3 separate regions of the Homo sapiens genome follow, and regions 1 and 3 are each linked to region 2. Evidence: promoter capture Hi-C in human tissues and cell types (Jung and others, 2019). All regions are on one chromosome and are shown on one strand. The core of a region is centred on a gene start or on the middle of the fragment in contact, and the rest is flanking DNA. Distances in the headings are between cores, read along the strand shown. Region 1 has its middle 34 kb from the start of FLT1. Region 2 holds the start of FLT1 (fms related receptor tyrosine kinase 1). Region 3 has its middle 54 kb from the start of FLT1.

The links. Contacts are between HindIII fragments. The study calls those that stand out against the background at their distance.
Region 1: a contact is called between a fragment that was not itself captured here and the fragment with the promoter of FLT1 in region 2, in 1 of the 25 tissues and cell types used here (psoas muscle).
Region 3: a contact is called between a fragment that was not itself captured here and the fragment with the promoter of FLT1 in region 2, in 1 of the 25 tissues and cell types used here (IMR-90 fibroblasts).

What each region holds. Positions count from the first base shown.
Region 1 is chr13:28,526,843-28,530,632 of GRCh38, reverse strand. No RefSeq gene overlaps it. Among named protein-coding and RNA genes, the nearest start is that of FLT1, 34 kb to the right of the region's middle. The HindIII fragment of the contact is 3,033 bases long and covers 333-3,365 here.
Region 2 is chr13:28,493,608-28,497,285 of GRCh38, reverse strand. It overlaps FLT1 (fms related receptor tyrosine kinase 1), which reads left to right and starts at 2,158. Exons shown (of 30, transcript NM_002019.4): 1 at 2,158-2,506. The coding sequence starts at 2,443. RefSeq lists silencers at 2,253-2,302, 2,423-2,542, 2,623-2,672. The HindIII fragment of the contact is 17,639 bases long and covers 1-3,678 here.
Region 3 is chr13:28,547,298-28,551,203 of GRCh38, reverse strand. No RefSeq gene overlaps it. Among named protein-coding and RNA genes, the nearest start is that of FLT1, 54 kb to the right of the region's middle. The HindIII fragment of the contact is 5,915 bases long and covers 1-3,906 here.

The sequences.
Region 1 (3,790 bases), core at 600-3,099, 34 kb before region 2:
TTGCATGTATATATGACATGCACACTGTTTTATATGTACCACATGTGTGTACACACAAACATGCTACACACATACAATATGTGTTTAGTAACTGCAATACCACCACCATCCCACGCTCCCCACCCCACCCTCGATGAGAAAGAAAATGGAAGCTATGTGTGAAATCTGTCATAGATACGCTGTCCTTCTCGTTAATCTCTTTTTGCCACAGACAAACTCTTCAAACATTTTGTGTGATTTCAATTTTGGAAAATGTTACTTCCCATCACATTTTAAACCTTCAAGTTTAGAGTTTATCATCATGACTACCAAAAGAGAGAAGGTCGAAGAAGTGCTTTGCGGACTTTCTAAGCTATATATTGGTAGGGCATAACTAGTATTGGAATTAGAGATCAGTTCTTAGCAGTGGCCTCTGACCCTTCAGATTTAAATCTTTGCTTTTTGCCTGACCACCCTCAGCTGTCCTTCCCATCTTCCCCAGCTGCAAGACTTAAGGATCTGTATAACAATATTTAAATATTTAAATCCCCTGGGGAAGCACACTAAAAGGAACCCTCTGGGACTCTTTATAATGTGAAAATCATCCTCTAATTGCTTCACTCCCAGTTGCTTAGTCCTCTGCCCTTTGCCCAACAGAGCTGAGTCAAGCCAGCAGTAAAAGCCAAGGCCACTTAGTGCTTCTTGAACGGATGAATGAATGAATAAATGATCATATTCTATTTTTTGTTTACATGTAATCATGTTATTTATATTTATTTATTTATTGAAATGGAGTTTAGCTCTTGTTGCCCAGGCTGGAGTGCAATGGCACCATCTCTGCTCATCGCAACCTCCACCTTCTGGGTTCAAGCAATTATCCTGCCTCAGCCTCCCCAGTAGCTGGGATTACAGGCATGCGCCACCACACCCGGCTAATTTTATATTTTTAGTACAGATGGGGTTTCTCCATGTTGGTCAGGCTGGTCTCGAACTCCTGACCTCAGGTAATCCGCCCACCTCAGCCTCCCAAAGTGCTGGGATTACAGGCATGAGCAACCGCACCCGGCGTTATTTTATTTATAAGCTTAGGGGAAAAAATTATAGCTCCTGGTCTGTAGAAATAGATTTGGGGAAAACGAAGTGGAACAATCCCTAAATAGTATAAATTGGGCATATCCTAATTGTTTAATACATATCTTTAATAATGAAAAATGTAGTTCACTCCTATGCTTAGCCAAGATGAAGTGAGAGTTAGGGCAGCAGAGTGTATAAGACCCTGTGATATTGTGAGTTCACCTTCTTGGGAGAGTTCTCTCTGTTTTTGCAAAATGCTTGCTGCCCCTGAGAGCTGTGTTGCTGTGGCTTTTACATATAATGTGCTACTTTGATTGGAACCTACTGTAGTTGTTATCTTTTTATATATGTGTCCCAACTAGATTGCGAGCCCCTTAAAGGATCGCCTTATATCTGCAAGGCTTGCACTGTTTTCTGCCCCTAGAAATAGACAAATAAGTGTCTGAGGGTGACGATGGGACTAGCCTGGTCATCCATGTGAAATGAATTCAGAGGTCAAAAGTCATCATGGAGCAAATTAAATGATGTCTAATGCCCTCCAGTGGCAGTTTTCCAATGGCATTCCATGGATGTGCTTCAAGGGATCAGTGGAGGAGAGTCTTCTACTACAGCAATTTTAGATTTGAGGTCCAGCTGCTCTGGACATTTTTGCAAACATCTACCTCTGAAGAATGACAGCAATGGGCAAAGGCAGGTTGCAATCCCAAACCAATGAATAGTGGAGGAAGATATTCAGGAGTGAACTTCCCCTATCATCAACTCTTATTTTTTTTCTGAACATAGTTTATATTCTATGAATGAGAAAGAAAAGAAAACGTTTCAGAGAAGAAATGCTCAGAGTTGGAGGGGAGTGGGGAAAAGGGACTCTTTGCATCTTTTGTTCTCTTCAACAGAAATAGCTGTCTGTCCCCAGCAGCTCCAGATGCCTGTCTCCATCTGTCCACACACCCTACTGGCATTTCCAATTCACTTTATCGCTGCCAGCACAGAGGCAGGTTAGTCCCCACAGTCTTCTCACAAAAAGATTAGCAGAACTTAAACTTAACAAGGCAGAGGCTTATTGAGTTGTGTTTCTTTGATAACCTTCAGCTAGGAGGTCTCCAAGGCTCCTCAGCATCTAGCACCTGAAGAATGGTTTCAGCTCGCCTTCACCTTGCCTTCTGGTGGGCTATTCATGTTGGTTTACCTTGTGTAGGTTACTATGGACCTTTTATTTTCCCACGCATTGCTGAAACTATCAGGAAAGCTGTTCCTTGTCAATAGAGGTCTATATGAAATAAATCAGTTCGAGGACTTAACGACAAACTATCCCTTGCTACTTGAGGTGTCCTCCTCCCTCCCCATTTCCCCGCTCTATTCCTAGACCTCAGATCTGGTCCTGGTTTCCTGCCCAGTGATCTTCTTCTAGGGCCTTTGCCAGGTCCCTTTTTCTAGATCTTTCATCCTGAGGCTGGGGACTGGTTGCTAGCCCCACAGCTGCCTCCTGCCTACTATTACACTTTCCTATGGAATATGCCCACCCAGATTTCTTAGCATGCTGTTCTGCCCACATTGTCGGACATCCTTTTATTCATCTTAGACTCCTTTTCCCATTGCTGATTAATTTCCTGGACTTGAAAAGATTATGATCAACTGTGGACGCCCCTCTGACATGAGCATCGTCGGCAGGGTCGCCTCTCCCGGCCTCTGTTCCGCTCCTTTGCTGGGGCCTTCCTCTTTTTCACTTGCTGCTGCTTTTGCAACGGTCTGACCACTTCCCCCCTGGGACCCAGTGGCAAGCTCAAAAATCTCTCTGAACAAAGGTAGATCTACGTTAAAAAAAAAAAAATCAATAGAGAGTCCTAGTTATGGCACCTTAAAAAAAAGAAACATGTGAATCCTAATGAGGTTTGAAATACCTAGGGATGTTTGCGATGGCCTTGCGGGTTTGTTTGCGATCGCCTTGCAGGTTTGGGTCTGCAAGGCTAGATTCCAGTCAGTTTGTTTCCTCCTGGAATCCTGCTCACAGTTTAAGCAAGCTGCCACATTGGAAGCAGGTGAGCAGTAGTACCTTAGATTTTTCAATGCCTAGATTCTCCCGTAAGTAAAAATCACTGAGTCCAAGACTATAGCATGCCTTTAATAAATTACACTTATAAAAGATGAAGTTCTTCTCATTTATTTATTTATTTATTTATTTATTTTTGAGGCAGGGTCTCACTGTCATTTCCCGGGCTGGAGTGCAGTGTTGTGATCTGGGCTCACTGCAGCCCCAACTTCCTGGGCTCAAGAGATCTGCCCACCTCAGCCTCCTGAGTAGCTGTGACTACAGGCACGCGCCACCCCTCCCGGCTAATTTTTTGTATTTTTAGTAGAGATGAGGTTGCGCCAGGCTGGTCTCGAACTCCTAGGTTCAAGCGATCCACCCACCTCCACCTCCCAAAATGTTGAGATTACAGGCATGAGCCACCACGCTGGGCCAATGATGTTCTTAATATAGAAACTCAATGTAGTAAACAACATTCTTTAAAAATCTTAAACATGAATTTTTTTTTTTTTTTTTAGGCAAGGTCTCACTCTGGAATGCAGTGGTAAGATCTCAGCTCACTGCAACCTCTGCCTCCCGGGTTCAAGTGATCCTCCCACCACAGCCTCTTGAATAGCTGGGATTACGGGCACATGCCACCACACCCAACTAATTTTTGTATTTTTAGTAGACGTGGGGTTTCACCATGTTGGCTAGGCTGATCTTGAACAG
Region 2 (3,678 bases), core at 909-3,408:
CACCCTTACTGCAGCATAGTTTTAATATAAATCTTAGATTCGACTGTGACTCTACTAACCTTAAATAATTGAGCAACATGTTAATATCATTGATTAGCATCTTAGATTATAAAGATTGTTTCAGCTGTCCATCAAATACCTGTTCTGGCTTTACAGACACAATGTAGATTCATTGCTGGCAGCAGGTTTGGAAAGTGTTGTCTCTTTATGAGTTAAAAATATCAAAATGGCATTTGAAAAAATGTATTAGCAAATTAAACCTTTGTACATGGTACTATGGACCACTTTCCCCCAGAGTCAAATGTGTGTCTCTCCTGAGAAGCCCTCCTTGGGTTTTCCCTGCCAATAAATGTGCCTTTACTTCTCTGAGCTGATGGAGGACTAAACACCCCTCCAGCACTGGAATGCCGGTCCTGCAGCCACTTCAAGTGTCCACCTTCTTATCACAGTCCAAGCCCTTTAGAAGGCAAAGATGATGGCTCTCCATCAGTGTTTTCAGCCCTAACCCAATGCCTGGCCCCTGTTGAATGCTGCAGAAGGACAATGCTGACAGCTTCTCCTTGAAAGAGGGTGTGGGAGTGACAAGCAGCTCTCAGGTGAGACCAACAGACACTGTGGCTCCGCACGTATGTCCCAGGCTGTGTTCTGGGCTGGGGGACCAGCAAGGAGAAGGATCAGCTGTCCGCTTCCAGCTGTTCTGAGGGATGATGCTGTGGGTTTTAGAGGAGGCAGGGGTGCGGGAGGCAGAGAAAGGCGCCAGGAAGAGTGGTGAGGAGAACTGGAAAAACAGAAAGCGCTGGTGAAGCCAGCAGGCAAGCAATGACTCCGGCAGTCTTCCTTGCCTCTGAAGCAGAAGGGATCCAGGGACAGTTAGTGGCTCAGGTCCTGCGGCTCCAGGTGCCCAGACGTGCATTTCCTGTGTGGAGTGGCCGGGGCCTCTCCTTGGTGTGCAGCCCAGAAATGTGGCAACTTTGGGTTACCCAACCTTCCTAGGCGGGGAGGTAGTCCAGTCCTTCAGGAAGAGTCTCTGGCTCCGTTCAAGAGCCATCACAGTCCCTTGTATTACATCCCTCTGACGGGTTCCAATAGGACTATTTTTCAAATCTGCGGTATTTACAGAGACAAGACTGGGCTGCTCCGTGCAGCCAGGACGACTTCAGCCTTTGAGGTAATGGAGACATAATTGAGGAACAACGTGGAATTAGTGTCATAGCAAATGATCTAGGGCCTCAAGTTAATTTCAGCCGGTTGTGGTCAGAGTCACTCATCTTGAGTAGCAAGCTGCCACCAGAAAGATTTCTTTTTCGAGCATTTAGGGAATAAAGTTCAAGTGCCCTGCGCTTCCAAGTTGCAGGAGCAGTTTCACGCCTCAGCTTTTTAAAGGTATCATAATGTTATTCCTTGTTTTGCTTCTAGGAAGCAGAAGACTGAGGAAATGACTTGGGCGGGTGCATCAATGCGGCCGAAAAAGACACGGACACGCTCCCCTGGGACCTGAGCTGGTTCGCAGTCTTCCCAAAGGTGCCAAGCAAGCGTCAGTTCCCCTCAGGCGCTCCAGGTTCAGTGCCTTGTGCCGAGGGTCTCCGGTGCCTTCCTAGACTTCTCGGGACAGTCTGAAGGGGTCAGGAGCGGCGGGACAGCGCGGGAAGAGCAGGCAAGGGGAGACAGCCGGACTGCGCCTCAGTCCTCCGTGCCAAGAACACCGTCGCGGAGGCGCGGCCAGCTTCCCTTGGATCGGACTTTCCGCCCCTAGGGCCAGGCGGCGGAGCTTCAGCCTTGTCCCTTCCCCAGTTTCGGGCGGCCCCCAGAGCTGAGTAAGCCGGGTGGAGGGAGTCTGCAAGGATTTCCTGAGCGCGATGGGCAGGAGGAGGGGCAAGGGCAAGAGGGCGCGGAGCAAAGACCCTGAACCTGCCGGGGCCGCGCTCCCGGGCCCGCGTCGCCAGCACCTCCCCACGCGCGCTCGGCCCCGGGCCACCCGCCCTCGTCGGCCCCCGCCCCTCTCCGTAGCCGCAGGGAAGCGAGCCTGGGAGGAAGAAGAGGGTAGGTGGGGAGGCGGATGAGGGGTGGGGGACCCCTTGACGTCACCAGAAGGAGGTGCCGGGGTAGGAAGTGGGCTGGGGAAAGGTTATAAATCGCCCCCGCCCTCGGCTGCTCTTCATCGAGGTCCGCGGGAGGCTCGGAGCGCGCCAGGCGGACACTCCTCTCGGCTCCTCCCCGGCAGCGGCGGCGGCTCGGAGCGGGCTCCGGGGCTCGGGTGCAGCGGCCAGCGGGCGCCTGGCGGCGAGGATTACCCGGGGAAGTGGTTGTCTCCTGGCTGGAGCCGCGAGACGGGCGCTCAGGGCGCGGGGCCGGCGGCGGCGAACGAGAGGACGGACTCTGGCGGCCGGGTCGTTGGCCGCGGGGAGCGCGGGCACCGGGCGAGCAGGCCGCGTCGCGCTCACCATGGTCAGCTACTGGGACACCGGGGTCCTGCTGTGCGCGCTGCTCAGCTGTCTGCTTCTCACAGGTGAGGCGCGGCTGGGGGCCGGGGCCTGAGGCGGGCTGCGATGGGGCGGCCGGAGGGCAGAGCCTCCGAGGCCAGGGCGGGGTGCACGCGGGGAGACGAGGCTGTAGCCCGGAGAAGCTGGCTACGGCGAGAACCTGGGACACTAGTTGCAGCGGGCACGCTTGGGGCCGCTGCGCCCTTTCTCCGAGGGAGCGCCTCGAGGAGTGGCTGGCCTGGACCCGCGAGCATCAGCGCTCAGACCGGGTCCGCGCTGGGGCTGTCCGTTTGCGACAGGATCGCTGATCCCTTATCCAGCTGTCGGGTTGGGGTCTCACTGCCGAGGCCCTGGGCACTAGGAGCAGCACGCACCGGGACCTGCCTGGCACCCAGAGCCCATTCCCAGAGGACCTGGGGCAGGTACGCAGGGTCCCCCGGAGCCGGGAGCAGAGGCTCCTGAAAGCCTGCCAGGCTGCCCGGGGCTGGGCTGAGGCCGGGACTTTGGTGATATTGGGCACTGGCCGCGACCTCGCGTCACGAGAGTGTAGGAGGGGAGCCGATTTGGAGGGGACTCGTGCCTGCGGGGGAGCAGGAGGATCTCAGGAGAGGGCCAGCGCCGGCATCCCATGACCCGCTTGAGTCCCCAAGCCGGACTGTCCCGGGGAACGCTCGGCGAGCGCCCGCTCCTCCCCGCCGCTCTCGGACCGCGGGGCCCCAGTGCGCTGCGCTCAGCCACCCGGGTGGGGCCTCTGCCGGGAGCAGGCGTGGTGCGCGGTCCAGTCCGTGTCGCGGACATCAGTGACCCTGACCCACAAGGGCAGCCCAGGGCCCAAATACCGTTAACTTACTGACTTACAAGCCTAGCCTTTAAAATCCGAGCGAAGAGAGGGCGGGCGATTTTGACCAAACGATGTGGTTTGAGGAATCGATGAGGTCCGCCCGCCACCTAAGTCAGCCTTCGCTGGGCGTTTGGGAGACGGGCGGTGGAACAGTCAGGGGCCGGGGGTTTTACCAGCAGTTAGACCGCCGCCATTGAGGGGTCAAAGCCCCGAGGAACTTGAGGGTTCGGACTCGCAGTCTCTGCTCAGTGGGGCTGAGTGGCGGAGATTTGTGCCTCGTTCCCCTGGGCGCAGAGAGCCAGATTTCGGAGCGCCTTTCTTTTAAGCATCGTGGAGAAAAGGTAAAATATGAAATAA
Region 3 (3,906 bases), core at 490-2,989, 54 kb before region 2:
AATCCTATAAAAGGAACTCTTTGACACATCACAAAAACCCAGCCAGGAGAAGAGAACCGAAGGGAACACATGAAAGAAATGTGAAGTTAAATTTCGGAAAGACAACCTCTCTGAGACAGGAGTATCCTAGGCCAAGAAATCAAAATTTGTTGCCAGAAAACTGAGCTGGAACTCAGGAGATTCTAAATGAAGGAACTCGGTGATTGGGGGATGCCAGATGATGCTTGTAGATTTTCAGTTCACTGAGGTTAAATCAGGTAATGTCTCATAGCTCCTCAAGCCTGACATCTTGTTGATAATGTTGGAGGCATACTGGTGTGGAATGTGCTGCCTCCAAACAAGGTTGCATGCCTCACATCCATTCTTACCATAATCACTGCCAGAAATCCAGGCCTCTCTGATCACCCAGGATCACACACCATACCGCTGTGTTCATCCCAATGGGACCCAATCCCCACCAACCCTCCATTGACCCCCCAGGAGTCACCCCTCTACAATCAGCAAACCCCTCCAGCTCTACCTCATTCCTTCGGGAGAGCCTAGCTGACCCTGAGAATGTTCCACACTGCAGTCCGACCCATGAGAGACTGTTTCTCTCTCACACATCCCCGCTTGGATCTCAGGACCAGAAACAAATTTGTGTGTTCCTGAGTCACATTACCACTTGCAGACCATGTCTCTCCCTCCCTCACACCACTCACATGCTCACATGTCACCTCTTCCTCCTCCTAATGAATGTCACACACAGACTTCCAGGATTTTTCCCGCTACCCACCCCCCACACACACACACACATACACACACTCATGTACTAAGGGTTTTCACTCCTGGCTGCCTGTCTTCCTTTCCACCCCAACTCTTGCAGCATTCGTGGTCACTTCAGTGTTCAGGGAGATGGCACATCCACTACACTGGCCTCTCCGGCTCTTTACTCAATAGTCTTGACAGCAGCCACCCACAGGCAGGTTACACCCTGCACTGTGTCATTATATTCTCCCCAGTCTCTCAATCTGTTTTAGTCCATTTCATGTTGCTATAAAGGAATACATGAGGCTGGGTAATTTCTTTAAAAAAGGTTTATTTGGCTCACAGTTCTGCAGGCTATACAAGAAGCATGGGACCAGCATTTGCTCCTGGTGAGGCCTCAGGAAGCTTCCAGTCATGACAGAAAACCAGCATGTCACACAGCGAGAAAGGGAGAAAGAAAGAGAAGGAGGTACCAGACTCTTTATTTTATTTTGTTTATTTATTTTTAAATTTTATTTATTTTGAGACAGGGCCTTGCTCTGTCACCCAGGTTGGAGTGCAGTGGCACAATCATAGCTCACTGCAGCCTTGAGCTCCTGGGCTCAAGTGATCCTCCCACCTCAGCCTCTCGAGTAGCTGGGACTACAGGTGCACACCACCATACCAAACTAATTAAAAAAATTTTTTTTTGTAGAGATGAGATCTTGCTGTGTTGTCCAGGCTGGTCTCAAACTCTTGGCCTCAAGCAATCCTGCTTTGATCTCCCAAAGTGTTGGGATTACAAGGCATGAGCCACTGTGCCTGGTCCATGCCAGGCTCTTTACAGCAACCAGCTCTCACTTGAACTAATAGAGCAAGAACTCACTCATTACCTTGGGGACGGCACCAAGCCATTCATGAGAGATCTGCCCTGCCCCCATGACCCAAACACCTCCCATTACGCCCCACTTCCGAGACTGGAGATCAAATTCCAACATGAAATTTGGCAGGGACAAACATCCAAACTATATCAGATCCCATCCCCCTTACCCTCCACACCTTCCTGTTCCTCTCCTACTCCTGTTCACACACCTCCACCATAACCATCCTCCCACTCCATCCAGACCACTTCCAATCACTGTCAGCTGAAGGCCTTTATTTTTGTTTTTTTCACTTACAAAAGGGCAGACATGAAAGGGGCCTCTCCTCTCTTCCCACCCTCAAATCAACAAACCTATTAGCACCTGGCACCTTGTTCCCTCCTGTCTCACCTTCCCTGCTCATGCATTTGCTGTCCTGAAACAATGCTCTCTCTTTCTACTCAGGAGGGCTTTCCAAGGGCTTGCCAGTGTGTTTTAGTGCCCACCTCTCTGAGAAGAGCCCTTCCCCGATGATGTGGTGTGCTGGAGCTGGGTGATAGTGCCTCCCAGGGGCCAATGCTAGATTTTTCAGGAATTTTATGAGCTGTTTGACAACATGTTGGTAGCTTGATGTTAGCCATGGTGAGAGTATTCATATTACCACAAATGGAGGCTTTGACTTTCCAGAGGGTGCATTGCTAAACATTTACCAGCATACCCGTTTTATTCCTCAGCCTCCTACTGCTGCCTATGCCTTTCTCTGCCACCCTGTCACCTCAAAACTAACTGTTGCAAGAGCTGTCAACAATGTTGACTTCCCATCACCTGTGTGCTCATCAAACCCACTCTAACCCAGCTTCTGTCCTCAGACTTCTCCAAACGACTCCTGTCCAAGCCGCTTAACACCTCCATATTGCAAATCCAAATAACCGGCTTTCTGTTTTTATCTTACTTGACCTTTGCACTGGATTTACCTAACTACTTCCTCACTTTCCTCCTGGCTTCCGAAGCTCCACTGCTCTGTCTCCTTCCTCTTTGGCTGTTCTTTTTCAGAACCTGTTGCAGGCTTCTCTCTGCCTCCCCCTGCATGGATGCACAACTCTAAAGGTTGGCTTTCCAGGGCTGGCTCTAGCCTCTCTTCTCCCCTCTATGCTCTCTTCTGGGTGACAGCATCCTTTCTAATGAGGATGCCATTTCTATGCTAAGGATCTCCAAAAGGACACCCAATCCTCTCCAATCCCCCGACTTCTCCATCCAGCTTCCTATAGGACAAATCCACTTGGAGGCATGCTTTGCTTTATTTTTTAAAAATTAATATATCATAGTTGTACAAATTTGGCAGGTACATGTGATATTTTGATACATGTACACAATGTGTGTGATCGAAACAGGCAACTGCCATATCCATCACCTCAAACATTTATTTTTTCTTTGTGTTGGGAACATTACAAATCTCCTCTCACAGCCATTTTGAAATATACAATAAATGGTTGTTAACTCTAATTTTCCTACTGTACTATCAAATGCTAGGACTTATTCCTTTGACCTAACTATATTTTGGTGGCTGCTAGCCAACTTCTCTTCATCCACCCCTTCCCTTCCCTGCCTCTGGTACCCACCATTCTGCTCTCTACCTCCCTGAGGTCCACTTTCTGGCATGGTTTGCTTTAAATGTAAAATGTCCAAAGTGGAGCCCTTGATTCCCTCACCATCTGGCAAACCAGTTCCTCTCTAGCCCCAGCAATCCCATCTCACTCACTGGTGACACCATTCAGCCATCTACGGGAGCCAGAATTGGGGGTACACTGTGATTCCTGCCTCGTTCTTGCCTCCACATCCAATGTCTCGGTAGGGCCTGTCATTTCCACGCCCTGGGTATGCTTGCATCTCAGCTCCCTCCTTTTCCCCCACGGCTGCGCATCATCTCAGCCGCCCTCAGCTCGCCTGTCTCTCGCAACGGCCTCCTTACTGGTCTAGATTCCACTGCTGCCTCCACTTCATATATTTACCACGAAACAACCAGAGTCAACTCTTGCAAAAGAAAATGCCGGAAATTAAAGTCACTTTTAACAACATTAAGGATACACCAAAAAGTAATTATTTCACTATTGAAATTGCCAATTTGTAAAGCTATAGATAAAACTATCAGTAAAACCGTTTTTAAAATTACATAGAAATGAACGAATTTATTTCAGGTAAGAAAGTATAACAGAAAAATATTTCCCATTTGATGGAAATTAATCTTTTAAGTGTATAGAATTTACATAGGTACCATTTAATCCCCTTTCACTTAAAGAAATGATTTCCATTACCTTCACTT